2 separate regions of the Homo sapiens genome follow, and region 1 is linked to region 2. Evidence: promoter capture Hi-C in human tissues and cell types (Jung and others, 2019). All regions are on one chromosome and are shown on one strand. The core of a region is centred on a gene start or on the middle of the fragment in contact, and the rest is flanking DNA. Distances in the headings are between cores, read along the strand shown.

What was found. The method cuts DNA at HindIII sites, captures the fragments that hold promoters and counts their contacts. A contact is called where the count stands out against the background at its distance.
Region 1: the fragment with the promoter of DOCK6 here is called in contact with the fragment with the promoter of ELAVL3 in region 2 in 14 of the 25 tissues and cell types used here (IMR-90 fibroblasts, bladder, dorsolateral prefrontal cortex and 11 more).

What each region holds. Positions count from the first base shown.
Region 1 is chr19:11,258,774-11,266,341 of GRCh38, reverse strand. DOCK6 (dedicator of cytokinesis 6) reads left to right here and starts at 3,818. Exons shown (of 48, transcript NM_020812.4): 1 at 3,818-3,945. The coding sequence starts at 3,902. RefSeq lists silencers at 3,734-3,893, 3,964-4,023, 4,104-4,243. The HindIII fragment of the contact is 27,433 bases long and covers 1-7,568 here.
Region 2 is chr19:11,477,782-11,484,890 of GRCh38, reverse strand. ELAVL3 (ELAV like RNA binding protein 3) reads left to right here and starts at 3,845. Exons shown (of 7, transcript NM_001420.4): 1 at 3,845-4,291. The coding sequence starts at 4,283. It overlaps ZNF653 (zinc finger protein 653), which reads left to right. Exons shown (of 9, transcript NM_138783.4): 8 at 750-849; 9 at 1,032-1,462. The coding sequence ends at 1,209. RefSeq lists silencers at 2,039-2,478, 2,509-2,758, 5,133-5,327. The HindIII fragment of the contact is 31,814 bases long and covers 1-7,109 here.

The sequences.
Region 1 (7,568 bases), core at 2,569-5,068, 220 kb after region 2:
ATGGCGGAGGCAGCGGGCAAAGGCAGGGATGTCCAAGCTGAGATATAAGGGACAAAGAAGGGTGCAGGCAGACGAGGAGTGGATGGAACAGCATTCCACGTGGAGGGAGCAGCATTAGGCAGCAGCGTGGGTGAAGGAGACGGTTTTTGACTCCTCTCTTACTCTAACTTGCAGATGGACTCACTGTCCAGCCACCAGTGAGCCATCTGCTCAGAGCCCACCGACTTCTCACCTCCCCTGTATCCTCACCCCATCCAGGCCTATCATCCCTAACCTGGACCAGTACAGCCCCTCCTCCCTGGTCCACCAGCTCCAGCCTCATGTCCGCAACGTGTTCTCCACGCAGTAGAGCAGAGGAGGCCAAAGTCCCCGCCACCACGCTCAGCCTCTGTTTGATCAGCTGTCAGGGGCACCCCAGCCACACCCAGCTGAGTCAGGGCTGGTGGTGCTCTGGAGAGAAATAGCCTCACCAGTCAGGTCTGGCAGGCACTGGGGCGGGTACTGTGCTCGAGGCATCTGGGGTAGGGCCTTTGATTGGAGCAATCTCTGAAGCAGCGTTTCCACCAAGGCAGGACATGGAGTCGCTGAGCTCAAAACCCCCTTGGGCTTCGACAGGGAATGGGCCCTGACAAGGCCCTGAAGTTTGCTGCTCCATGGCTCAACCTACCTCCTGATGTCTGGGTCTCAAGCTGTGACCAACCACGAACTCTCAGGGAGCAAACAAGGAAACTGGGGCTCAGAGAAGTTGAGCAATTTATCCTGGGTCACACAGCCAGGTCTGATGGAGACCCAGTGAGACTTTAGAGACAACCGCTTTGGGATCAGGCTCCCTGGAGTCAAATCTTGGATCTGACACTGATTCACTAGGCTACATTAGGGCGAGTCCCCTCTCTGGGTGTTCTTCAGTTTCCTTATCTGTAAAAGGGGGCTACTGGCAACGCCCATATGTGGGAAAGGGAACAGAACATGCAAAGGTCCTTGAGTGGAGCTGTGTCCTGGTGTTTAGAGAAGCATCCAGGAGGCAGGGGCAGCTGGAGTGGAGTGAATGAGGGAAAGAAAAGGAAGAGGCAAGCCAGGGAGGTGACAGGGTTGATCATGCTGGGCCTTGTGGGTTGTGGGAGGACTTTGGTTTTGTTTGTTGGTTGTTTTGTTGTTGTTGTTGTTTTGAGACAGGGTCTCACTCTCGCCCAGGCTAGAGTGCAGTGGCGCAATCTCAGCTCACTACAACCTCCACCTCCTGGGTTCAGACGATCCTCATGCCTCAGCCTCCCGAGTAGCTGGGATTCAGGCTCCCACCACCATGCCCGGCTATTTTTTGTATTTTTAGTAGAGACGGGGTTTTGCCATGTTGGCCAGGCTGGTCTGGAGCTCCTGACCTCAAGTGATCCACCCGCCTCGGCCTCCCAAAGTGCCAGGATGACAGGGAGCCACTGTGCCCGGCGGGTTGTGGGAGGACTTTGGCTTTTACCCTGAGTGAGGTGGGAGCCATGGAAGGTTCTGAACAGAGGAGGGAACTGAAGTGATGCAGGTGTTCCCAGGCTCTTCCTGGCCACTGATGCAGGAACAAGCTGGGGGGAGGATGAGAAAGGAAGCTGGGAGACCGGATATAAAGGGGGCTGGACTGGAACTAGGCTAAGAAATGTGCAAATCTTCGCTCATCTGCATATTTCCTGCCCAGCCTAGCTCCCAGCAGCCTGAGAGGCAAGGCGGGGACACTTGGTGGGGCATGGCGGGGAGTGATGGGCGGAGCTCCACCTGGCCAAAGTGGCTGGACCACTCCGGGCAGGCACGTGGGCTGTGTGCACATGTCACATGCCAGGCTGTGAGCAGCCCTACTGCGGCCTGACTAGCAGGATGCTATCCTGCGTCTGACTGGCAGGGTTTGGGGGTTCCCCTACAATCCAGGCCTCTTTCCTGTGGGTTCAAGGTCTGACATGGATTCATTGGGCAGCAAGGCAAGAAACTGTGTCTCGGGGGTGCATGGTGACTCAGGGTGGGCATGTGGCTCATTCCTGTAATCCCGGCACTTTGGGAGGCCGAGGCGGGTGGATCACCTGAGGTCAGGAGCTCCAGACCAGCCTGGCCAACATGGTGAAACCCCGTCTCTACTAAAAATACAAAAAATTAGCCAGGTGTGATGGTGGGTGCCTGTAATCCCAGCTACTCGGGAGGCTGAGGCAGGAGAATCGCTTGAACCTGGGAGGCAGAGGTTGCGGTGAGCCGAGATTGTGCCATTGCACTCCAGTCTGGGCAACAAGAGCGAAATGCCACCTCAAAATAAATAAATAAATAAATAAATAAATAAATAAATAAATAAATAAATAATAGAGGATAAAATGCCAGCAACCCATAGATGGGAATGAGAACAGCACGTGCAAAGGCCCTGAGGCAGAGCCACGGCCTTGTCTGATTCAACCTCAAATTCTCCCTGGGGCATTTGCTGACCAGGGAAAGAAGGGCTGTCCAGGAGGAAGGACCTGCCGGTGCAGAGGCATGCAGGTGAGAAAGGGGTGAGCTCCTCCAGAGGGGAGTGTCGGCTGGAGAATTCTCTAAAAATGCTGCAGCAGTGCTGGGAGAGAGGCCAGTGGGGAGAGATTTGAGACCATAGATTAACCAAGACATCCCCACCTCTTCCTCTTGGTAGAGGCGGCCCCGAAAGTCTAGACTCCCAAACTGGCTCACTCAGGTCCCACCACCTGGACCTGGGGCACATCTCCGAGCACTCCAGTGCCTAGCCAGGCTCCTCTGACTCCCATGCTGTAGACTGGGAGCACGGACAATGCAGGCGCTGGAGACCCCTGTGAGTCACACTGAGCAAGCACCCGAACACCTCTGTGCCTCAGTTTACTCATCTGTAAAAGGAGGAAAACAATAATTTCTTCTGCATGTGTGAATTGCAGGGCCAGGCTCAATGACATCTTAGCAATTAGACTTTTTGAGACAGGGTCTCGCTCTGTCACCCAGGCTGGATTGAAATGGCACAATCACAGCTCACTGCAGCCTTGACCTCCCAGGCTCAAGCGATCCTCCTCCCTCAGACTCCCAAGTAGCTGAGATTACAGGCACACACCACCATGCCTGGTTAATTTTTGCATTTTTTGTGGACACGGGGTCTCATTATGTTGCCCAGGCTGGTCTCCAACTCCTGGGCTCAAACAATCCTCCTGCCTTGGCCCCCCACAGTGCTGGGATTACAGGCATGAGCCACCATGCACGGCCACGATTATACTTACAGGTATGATTATTAGATACATGAACATCGTTATTGTTTTCCAGCCAGGAGTCAGAGGGCAGAAAGAGCGCCCCCCAAACCCCGGAAATCTGGGGCCTACCCAGCCTGGGTCCCAGCGCCTCCCCTCCCTCCCTCCCTCCTGAGCTTCAGTTTCCCCAGCCCTGCTCCTGGGGTGGTAAGACCACCCCACTAAACCCCGGGAGCCTGGGGTCCACCTAGCCCGGGTCTCAGCGCCTCCCTTCCCTCCCTCCCTCCTCAGGCTCAGTTTCTCCAGCCCAGCTCCCAGGGTGGAAAGAGCGCCCCCGCCAGCTCGGGAGTCTGGGGCACCCCCAGTCTGGGTCCCAGCGCCTCCTCTCCCTAACTTCCCTCCTCAGCCTCAGTTTCCCCAGCCCTTCTCCTAGGGTAGAAAGAGCGTCCCCCCAGCCCGGGAGTCTGGGGCCCGCCCAGCCTGGATCCCGGGGCCTCCTCTCCGTCCCCAGCCTCAGTTTCCCCAGCCCCCAGGACTCCAGGCGACCCCTCCGGCCTGCAGGGGCAGCACGGAGCGGCCCGGGCCACCCGGAAGGGCCCCGCCCCCGCGCCGGCCCCGCCCCGCCCCGGCTGCCCAGAACCGGGAGGCGGCGGCGGCGGCGGGGCCGGGGCCCGGGGCGGCGGCGGCGGGACGCGAGGACCATGGCTGCCTCCGAGCGCCGCGCCTTCGCGCACAAGATCAACAGGTAGTGTGGCCGCGGGGCCCCCTCCCACCTCCCCCACGTGGCCCGGCTCCGCCCCGGGGCGGTGCGACCCTCCCCGCCCGGGCGCCCCCAATTCAACCCCTTTCCGCCTCGGCCCGGGTCCCGCCAGCTTCCTCCGGCCGGGGCTGGGAGCGGGAGAAGGCGGGGAGGGCCGCGGGGGTCCCGGCGGGGGTCCCAGATGGGAGTCGCGTCGGGGCTGGGAGCGCGATGGCGGCTGCCGTTCTGCCTCCGTGACGCGCGGGGGTGTGTCCGGAGGGCTTCCCGGAGGAGGTGGCGTGGGGATGCGGATGACGGGCGCCCCCTGAACTCCCTGCGCTCCCCGTCCGCCTCTCGGCCCCTCACTGTCCCCGCGCTCTCGGAGATCGGGGTGGGCCGGACTTTCTGTTCCTTCCTCAGTGCCTGGTTTGGGGCAGGGAGGCTCCAGGCTCTGAGATTTGGGGACAGAGATGGGCTCCTTGGTGGCGTTTGAAACCCCTCGAGGAGTTTCCCGTGCCCTTCCCCCTCCAGGGTCCAGTGCCCAGCTGTCGGGGGGGGGGAAGGGGGACAGCTGTGGACGCCCCCCCACCTTCTGCTTCAGGCTCTCCCGTCACGGGCTGGACCGCGCTGGGGATGGATGGGTGATTGAATGGAGGGAGTGGGGGCTGGGGACAGAACCAGCTGGTGGGCAGACGGGGGAGGGGACAGGCCCCAGGCGCTGGGGGATCCATTTCCGTGGCCACTGGGGATTGTGAGAGTCACAGCCTGGGAGGGGTATATCAGACTCTCTGGGGCTGAAAAGCCTCGCCCCCAGTTGGCGGGGGGTCTTTGCGACAAGGGTGCGTTCAGAAGCTCAGGTATCCTCTCCCCGGGGGACCTGTCCTGACTGCCCCCAGGTGAAAGAGCTGCCCTGTGGGTTGGGCCCTGGTCTTATGGAGACAAAAGATCCCCCTCTTGGGATATAGTGGCGGAGAGAGACCAGAAGCCTGATCGAGTAGATTACCTGTCAGTGACAAGTGCTGTAGGGACAAGAAGACAGGGAAGGGGGATGGGAGGGTGGGGGCTGCTTGAGATGCGGGAGGTGGGTCAGGAAGGCCTGGATGAGCAGGTGCCTTTGAGCAAAAACCTCAAGGAGATGAGAGAGGGATCGATCGAGGCCAGTTTGTGGGGGGAAAGAGTGGGAAGGGTTTGTGCAAAGGCCCTGAGGCAGGAACAGAGAGCTGGAGGGGGACAGTAAGAGTAGAATGTACAGGGTCGTGTGGGCTGTGCAAGGGACTTTGACTTTGGACCCCAGGTGAGGTGGGAGCCATGGGGAGTTCTCAGCAGAGGAGGGATGAGACTTGGTGGCTGGGGCGTAATGGCTGGGCAATTTTTATGTTCTATCATTATCTTTGTCTGTAAATTGGCTTTCAAAATGTCTTAGACCTTTGGCGTCTTTGAGGCTGCAAACATTATTGCTGTCTGTTTCTTTTTCTTTCCTTTTCTTTTTCTTTTCTTTCTTTCTTTCTTTTTTTTTTTTTGAGACAGAGTCTCGCTCTGTCACCCAAACTGGAGTGCAATGGCACAATCTTGGCTCACTGCAACCTTCGCCTCCTGGGTTCAAGCGATTCTTGTGCCTCAGCCTCCTGAGTAGCTGGGGTTACAGGCGCCCACTACCACACCCAGCTAATTTTTGTATTTTTAGTAGAGAGGGGGTTTCACCATGTTGACCAGGCTGGTCACGAACTCCTGACCTCAGGTGATCCGCCCACCTCCCAAAGTGCTGGGATTACAGGTGTGAGCCACTGCACCCAGGCTTTTTTTTTTTTTCCTTTTCTTTTTTTGAGACAGGGTCTTGCTCTGTCACCCAGACTGGAGTGCAGTGGTGATACCTTGGCTCACTGCAGTCTCAATCTCCCGGGCTCAAGTGATCCTCCTGCCTCAGCCTCCCAAGTAGCTGGGACTACAGGTGTATGCTGCAACACTCAGCTAACTTTTTAACCTTTTGTAGAAACGGGATCTCACTATCTTGCCCAGGCTGGCCTCAAACTCCTGGGCTCAAGTGATCCTCCTGCCTCGGCCTCCCAAATGCTGGGATTACAGGCGTGAGCCATTGCGCCCAGCTTGCTGTCTGTTTCTTTGCATTTTGGTCTGTATGTCCTTGGGTCCTGGTTTTTACTCAAGTGAGAAAGAGGGGTTTTGGATACTGTAGAGCTCAGGGTAAGAGTAGAGAATGATCCTGGGGCCCTAGTGAACTGTGAGGGAGTGGCCCAGGGCTTCCAGAGCAACTTCGCTCTTGGGCACCCAGGTGTCTACATACTCAGAGCTGGTCCTATATTCATCTGTTCATCCATTCAGTCATTTATTCCACAAATACCAGATTAACCCGAATATTAGACAATCTTCCAGCTACTCCAGAGGCTGAGGCAGGAGGATCACTTGAACCCAGGAGGTGGAGGTTGCAGTGAGCAGAGATCGTGCCACTGCACTCCAGCCTGGGTGACAGAGTAAGACTCTGTCTCAAAAAAAAAAAAAAAAAAAAGGCCGGGCGCGGCGGCCCAGGTCTGTAATCCCAGACTTTGGGAGGCCGAGGCAGGTGGATCACCTGAGGTCAGGAGTTCGAGACCAGCCTGGCCAACATGGTGAAACTCCGTCTCTACTAAAAATACAAAAAGTTAGCTTTTTGTAACTTTACAAATTTACAAAAGCGTGGTGACGCACGCCTGTAATCCCAGCTACTCGGGAGGCTTAGGCAGGAGAATTGCTTGAACCTGGGAGGTAGAGGTTGCAGTGAGCCGAGATCCCGCCACTGCACTCCAGCCTGAGCGACAGAGCGAGACTCCATCTCAAAAAAAAAAAAAAAAAAAGAAAAGAAATAATGATTCATTGGAGGGGTGGGAAGAAAATGAGGTATTTATTGACAAATTTCAAAATCCCAAAGTTACCACTGAAATTTCAGGTAAACATCTCTCTCTCTCTCTCTCTCTCCCCCATCCTTGAATATATTGGCAAACACAAGCACATACATATATTGTTATTTTTTACCATTTAAACAACTGTAACATACAACATTCATACCAAAAACTACAAATTTTGGGCCAGGTATGATGGCTCACACCTGTAATCCTACCACTTTGGGAGGCCAGGAGTTCAAGACCAGCCTGGGCAACATAGCGAGACCCTGTCTCTGCAAGAAACAAAATTACCCAGGTGTGATGGTGGCTCATACCTGTAGTCCCAGCTCCTGGGGAGGCTGAGATGAGAGGATTGCTGGAGCCCAGGAGGTTGAGGCTGCAGTGAGCCGTGATTGCGCCACTGCACTCCAGCCTGAGTGACAGAGTGAGACCCTGTCTCAAAAGAAAGAAAAAGAAAGTAGCCTGGGTATGGTGGCTCATGCCTATAATCCGAGCACTTTGGGAGGCTGAGGCAGGTGGATCACCTGAGGTCAGGAGTTCGGGTCTGTAGATGGTGAAACCCCATCTCTACGAAAAATATAAAAATTAGCCAGGCATGGTGGCGAGTGCCTGTAATCCCAATTACTGGGGAAGCTGAGGCAGGAGAATCACTTGAACCCGGGACGTGGAGGTTGCAGTGAGCTGAGATCACGCCACTGCACTCCAGCCTGGGTGACAGAGACTCCGTCTCAAGAA
Region 2 (7,109 bases), core at 2,596-5,095:
TAGTAGGGACAGGGTTTCGCCATGTTAGCCAGGCTTGTCTCCAACTCCTGATCTCAGGCGATCTGCCCACCTTGGCCTCCCTAAGTGCTGGGATTATAGGTGTGAGCCACCGTGCTGGGCAGAAGTTTTTTTTGTTTTTGTTTTTGTTTTCATTTTGCGAAATCACCCAAAGTTCAAATATCAGGGACAAGGCCGGGCGTGGTGGTAATCCCAGCCCTTTGGGAGGCTGAGGTGGGCAGATCACCTGAGGTCAGGAGTTCGAGACCAGCCTGACCAACATAGAGAAACCCCGTCTCTACTAAAAATACAAAATTAGCTGGGCATGGTTGGTGGCACATGCCTGTAATCCCAGCTACTCAGGAGGCTGAGGCAGAAGAATCGCTTGAACCCGCGAGACCAAGGTTGTGGTTGCGGTAAGCCGAGATCGGGCCATTGCACTCCAGCCTGGGCAACAAGAGCGAAACTCCGTCGCAAAATATATATATACACACACACAAGACAAATTCAGACCCATGTTGGCTTGGTAGTGTGCACCCTATGCCTCTCAGGGACCCAAGTTCGATCTCAGTTCTGCTTGATGGCGTCTGTGGGCAAATGCACGGGAAGGACGTAGGGTTTGGTCGGCCTGCACCTGCAGTCCTGGGAGATCCAAGGAGACAGCCTGATGCTCCTTCTAGCATCAGAGTCTGCAGCACATCAGAGACACCCCATAGCCCACCGTCCTCAGCCTCGGTCCCCACCGCCCCCAGGTGTCCGTGAATTCACCTGCGAGACCTGCGGCAAGTCCTTCAAGAGGAAGAACCACCTGGAGGTACATCGGCGCACCCACACCGGCGAGACCCCCCTGCAGTGAGTGACAGGCCGCCCCGTGCCGCTAGAGGATTGGGTGGGAGGGGATCCCAGCAGGTCCCAGGGGCGGCTTCGCCCCAACGCAGTGTCTGGGCCCGGTTCCACCTGCGCTCGGCCTTGTAGGGCCCCGCCCCGCCCCGCCCACTCTGACCCCGCCCCGTCCCGCCACGGGCTCCCGGCAGGTGCGAGATCTGTGGCTACCAGTGCCGGCAGCGCGCGTCGCTCAACTGGCACATGAAGAAGCACACTGCGGAGGTGCAGTACAACTTCACGTGCGATCGCTGCGGGAAGCGCTTCGAGAAGCTGGACAGCGTCAAGTTCCACACGCTCAAAAGCCACCCGGATCACAAGCCCACCTGACCCACCTGACCACTGACCGCCCCTATTTATTCGTCCGCTCGGACACCACGCCCGGGCTTGCCGGGGCCTGGACAGCTGCGAGGGCCGCCCGGACCGCGGGCCGGAAGGAGGCGCCCCCGCCCCGCCCCAGAGCTGGGCCCCCTGGGCAGGTTCCCCACCCCGCCCCACCGCATCCTTCTCGGAGCTGGTGCCTGGGGCTGCATTGCTGGAACTGTGTCAAGAGAGCAGAGTGAGATTAAAGAGCGAGAAAGGAGATGCCCTTCCCCTAGGCCTGAATGATTTGGGGTGCCAGGCCCCTCTCTGTCTCCAGCCTACTTGATCCCTTCCTAAGCGAGGCAGGGAACGAGGGATGCCCCTGGGCCCAGCAGCCTCGCACAGCCCCTGCTCCCACAGGATGGGGTGAGGCTTGGGGGTCTGGGGTCTCTGGGCATCTCCCGGAACTCAGGACCCTAATTTCCACTTCCTCCTGTTTTATGGGGCACCCATCTCCCACCCTCAGTGAGCTCCGGGATGAGATGGGGAGGTGTTCAGTAAACCCCTAAAATGAGAAACATTTGCAGCTAGCGACAAGCGCCATGCAAAAGAGAGAGTGATGCGTTGTTTTCCGGGGATGCTGTTTAGGTCGGTGGTCAGGGAGGGCCTCTGAGGAGGTGGCATTTGCGCATAGACCAGAATGACAAAGATCTATCCCAGAAGAAAGCTGGGGGAGGAAATTCTCAGGCCAGAGGAACAACCAGTGCCAAAACCCCGAGGTAGAACTAGCTCGGCGTGTTCCTAAAACAGGAAGCCGCGGGGGGAAGGGGAGTTGGCGGCGGCTGCCCTGGCCCCATTTCCCGGAGGAGGATGCTGAGGCCGCCGCCTCCTGCGGGCCGCTAGAGAGAGGGGCGGGGAGCGAGGCGCGGCCGCTAGGTGGCGTGCGAGGCGCGTAGGCCCTGGTGGCCGCAGCCACGTGACCCTGGGGACCGCAGCCGCGAGCTCAGGCACGTGCCCGGGGGAGCCCTGTGGCGCCACGCGCAGATTGGCCCCGCCGGTTCCTCACCAGTTCGGGGGATGAGGCGGGGCCCCAGCTATGCCTCAGTTCCTGCTGCGGACCGGGGGGCTACCCCAGCCGGGGACAGAAGAATCGGCAAGGATGAGCGAGTCCGGCCGCTGGGGCCGCCCCCGCGAGCTCCCTCCCCCCGCGAGGCAGGTCCCCTCCACTCTCCCCGCACTGCCGGAGCCGGCAGGTTTCCATGGGAACCGCAGCGGGGTCCGCGCGCCCAGGAGCAGCCCCCCTCCTAGCTCAGTTTCCGATGACGGAAACCGGGAGGAACACGGGGTGGGGAACAGACCATCGCTTGGGGCCCCTAGCGCCCGCAGCCAGGTCGCCCCGGCGAGCCCAAGAGGGGCCACCCGGGGATCTGCACCGCCACCGCCCCTATTGCGCGGGCCACTGCGATTGGCCTGCCCTTTCCAGGCGTGGCAGCATCCCCTGGTGCGCGCACTCCCATTGGCTCGATCTCTAGGGCATCTTCCAGTAACTGGTTATCTCAAGGGCCGCCCCTGATTGGGCAAATTAGGCTCTCCTCGCTGGTGGCGCTCTCTGACAGTCTGGAGCCTAAAGGGCGTGCAGGAACGAGGATTGGGTGGGGACTGCCGCTCTCCAGTTAGGGGGTCTGGGCTACCTCGCCGGCAGCGCCCTCGACCGGACTGTCGGATTGCTGTCTGTGGTGCTGAAGCCTCACGCCCTGGCGACCCCGCCCCAGTGTGTGCTAGTTCCCGCGCCCCGACGTAAACATGCACCGGCGCCCGCGCACCAAAGGAGGCTGCGCCACCCCCAACGCCTTAGAGAGAGGCCAGGTTCCCCCTAGCAGAGAGCGAGCATGACTCCACAGTCAGGAGGACCAATCACGAGCCTAGAAAGCCAGGACATTTATGTGGCAGATCCACCCACCCCAGTTCTGTGGGGTCCAAGAAGGATCCGTGGTTTCCCAGAGCTGCATGGCTCCAGCGATGATTGTCCAGAACACTGAGCCCCAAACCTTTTCACCCCCTTCGGAGCAGTGCGGAGTTTCCTTGCACTGGGGAGTGCCAGTCCTTACCTTTTGAACCCTAGAAGGATCCAGCTCACTCAAAACCAACAGCGTCCCAGTCTCCTTCTGCAGAAGACTAGGGCCACAGTAGCCACCCTCCCCCGTGGTCTTGAGGTGGTCTACACTGGTGCCTCCAAATCTGGGGACCCAGGCCTCTGCCTACTAAAATATTGGTTCCTGATCCCCTGTCCAGTTCCCTCAGTGGACAACACCTCTGGAAGGTCGCATATTCAGGCCACTAATACCTCCTCGCTCTGTTGGCTCCTCCAGCTCTAGGAGCTGGACGGAGGAGGGGAGCCCGTCTCCTGGCCCGAAAGCCAGCCCAAGAAGGGGTGCCAGGGTAGGAAGCAAGGGCCTCGAGGGAAGGAGGGCCCAAATCTGGCAACCCGAGCACCTAGGATGCGCTTTTGGGGGATTCAGAGTCCCGACCAGTGCGCGCTCACTTCCACCTGCCGCGCCGTCGGGAGCCGCGAGGAGGCGGAGCTCGGTCGCCGCAGCCAATGAGCGACGCCGGCGCTGGCAGCTGCTGCTATAAAGGGCTGGGGGCGGCGGCGGCGCGGTCCAGAGCGCGGAGCGCGCAGCGCGGGCCGGAGGGAGGGAGGGAGGGTGGGCGAGGGGAGAGGACTTGAACACACGGGACCGGACAGGACCGACCGAGGGGCGGCGGCGAAAGGCAGAGCGCCGCGATCTCTGTCGGGAAGCGCAACCTCCCCGGGCCCCGCGGGGCCGCGCAGGGGGCGTCCTCAACCCCGCGCCCGCTCCCTCTTTCCATCCCCTGCCGCCCGCAGGCCACCCCGGGGCCCGGCCATCCGCGCGCGCATCCCCGGGTTCGGGCCCGTCCCTGGCCCTCGAGGGAGCCGCCGCCTTCATCGCCACATCTGCAGCGGCCGCACCAGAGGCCGCCCGGGCGGGACCCCAGCGTGAGCATCGGGCGCCCCCCTAGGAGTGCACCACCCCCGGAGCCCCCCTCAACACGGACCGCGCCCGCCGGGCACACAAGAATGGTCACTGTAGGTATTCCCCTGTCGCCGAAAGGGAATCGGGACGGGGAGGAGTTGGGCCCAGGCTCCGCGGAGATTGGGCGGGTGCGGCGGGGGGGGTAGGACCAGGCCTAGCTAGGCCCGGGTTGGGGGGGTAGGACCAAGCCTCGGGGCCTGAGAGTGGGCAGGGCCGCGCCCAGAGTGCTGAGGGCGCTTAGAGCTTGGTCTGAGAGGGCCTTAGGGAGACTGACTGCGATTCGGGAGGCGTCCGACGCCGCCCTGGAGGCGGGATTGCCCCCTCTCCAGCAGGCCTGATGGGGGAGGGGCCGCGGCGGCTAAGGATGCTTCCTCCATCCAGGCCCAGACCCCGCAGGCCGCCCAGGCAAACGCAGGGCCCGATCACTGGTGCTGGGCCAAGCCAAAGCGACAAAGCGTCCCCGAGAGCCCTGGGAAAGCGGGTGGCGTCGGATCGCGCGCCCCGGGCCTCGGCCGCACCCGGGAGGCGGGCGTCTCGTCCTCGAGCCCGTCGACCTTGCGGCAAGCGGGGAGGGGAGAGGAGGGGGCGCGCCCGGAGGCCCCGCGGGCCCGCCGCCGCTGCTGCCGCGTCCCTTTGTTTCTCGGCGCTTCTTCGCGGGCCGCAGCCTCGCGCGGGCGCCTCGGGCTGCGGGGAGGGGGAGGGGAGAGGAGGGCCCGCGGGTTGGGGGGGCACCTCTGGGCTCCCGGGTCTCCGCCCCCCGGGAGATGGGGTGGGAGGCCGAGACAGCCCCCTTAGGCCAGGTCCAGGCTCCCCACCTCGCCAAGGCTCTGGGCCGCGAGGTGACCTTGAGCGCGGCCCGCCCGCCTGCTCGCCCGCACCGCTAGCCCCGCGCTCGGTGCTTTCAGCAGCCACGGAGCTGGTCAGCTCCCGAGCGCGCAGCCCCTCCCGCCCTGCCACGCCCTGCCTGGCCACGCCCGGGCACGCCCATCTAGGCCCCGCCCCCAGGGCCCCGGGGGCCCGGCCTCGCCCGAGCCCTCGGATTCCCACTCGGCAGCCCGGGCGTATCCCGGGGGCGGGGCTGGCCAGTTATAGCCCCACCCCGGCTCCACCCCCGCCCCTGCCGCGCGACTCCGCTCCCCGCGCCGCCGCGCGTCCTTTGTCTGGTCCCGGCGCCTGGGCCTCCCTCTTCCACTCTTCCTATCTCTCCGTCTCTGCGTGTGTGTCTCTGTGCATTGTGTCTCTTTCCGGGCCCCTTTTTCGAGTCGTGGCTAGCACTGGGGGTGGGGGCATGATTGGCGCTCCCTCCATGCCTAAGCCTCTCCCCTCCTGGACCCTGGGACCCGCCCACCTGGCTCTGAGAAATGAGGTCCCGGAGGCCTGGCTCACCTGCTGTGTGACCTCAGGCCGTTCCTTTCCCTCTCTGGGCCTCGTGCTGTTCACCCAGGTCTGGGAACTGGAGTGTGGCCTCCTGAGGACCTCAGAACTCCCGCAACAGTCCAGCATCTCCTAAGCGTCCTCTGATCGGTTCTCTCATTTGAAAAAGGAAACTAATGCACAAAGGGAAAGAGGGTGTGGTCAGAGGTCACACAAGGGCCTTGAGGACCTAGGTTCTCCAGTGAGCGAGCCCTGGGGCAGAGATGTATCATGGGGACAGGCTGGGAGGAAGAGAGGTGACAAATTAAGACCAGGAGGACCCTGCATTGAAGAAGGGCCCAGAAGTAGGAGGCTCAGTCAGCACCACGTGGTAGCCCAGCCTCACCATGCATAGCCACTCAATGCCCTATTGTCGCCGGTATCCAGGCATCTGTCACTGTGACTGGGGCCAGGGGCCGCAGCTGGGGGCCGTGGGGGTCAGACACAGGAGGTTTTAAGAAAAAAGTGGCCTCAGGTGTGTTCACTGCAAAACCCATACGTCAGATGTATGTGCGATGGTGGAAAAGAGGAAGAGAGAGTGATGAGGCCAGGGACACAGAACGGTTCAGAGAGAGGGCAGGACAGTGGAGAAGAGAGGGAAACAGAGGAAGAAAGAGGGAGAGAGAAACCAAAAGTCGGGGGAGACTTAGAAGAAGCACTGGAGAGAATGGGAAGCTTCCCTAACCCTCCATCTTTTATCTGCCCTCCTCCTCCCTGACTTTGCCACCCCCCCATCTCTGTCTGGGGCCAGTCGCCGAAGTCCCTTTGATGCCCATGTAGCCACCATCCCAGGCTGTGCACTTACTGCAGGCTGGGGCAGGGCGGGTGTGGCTTCCATCAATCTGATCCCCATTATCAGCTCAGCCGGCTCAGCCACAGAGGAAACGAGATACTGGTCCCGCTAAGCTCTGGCACAAATGGGAGGGAGAACGGGTGGTGGCCAGATTAGCAGGCTAGGCCTCAAGAACCTGGGTCTGAACCACCCAGTCACCTCTTCACTCTGCTCAGGTTGGGGACACCATGGGAGGGGGGCAGCCAGTAACTCTTTCGGCTCTAGGGTCATCGGATCAGGAGTCAGATGTTGACACCATCCCCTCCACCTCCTCCTGTCACCCTGGACAAGTCATAGGTCCCTGTGACTAACCCTCAGTGTCCCCATCTGAGAAATGGAGGAGACCCTTCATACCATTCACTGTGGTTGTGGGAGGTCAATGAAAACTTTGCACATGCTCAGTGGAGTTCAAAAATAGGATCTAGCACGGTGGCTCATGCCTGTAATCTCAGCACTTTGGGAGCCCAAGGTGGGTGGATCACATGAGGTCAGGAGTTCGAGACCAGCCTGGCCAATATGGTGAAACACCGTCTCTACTACAAATATAAAAAGTTAGCGGGGCGCGATGGTGCACACCTGTGGTCCCAGCTACCTGGCTGAGGTGGAAGAATTGCCTGAACCCGGGA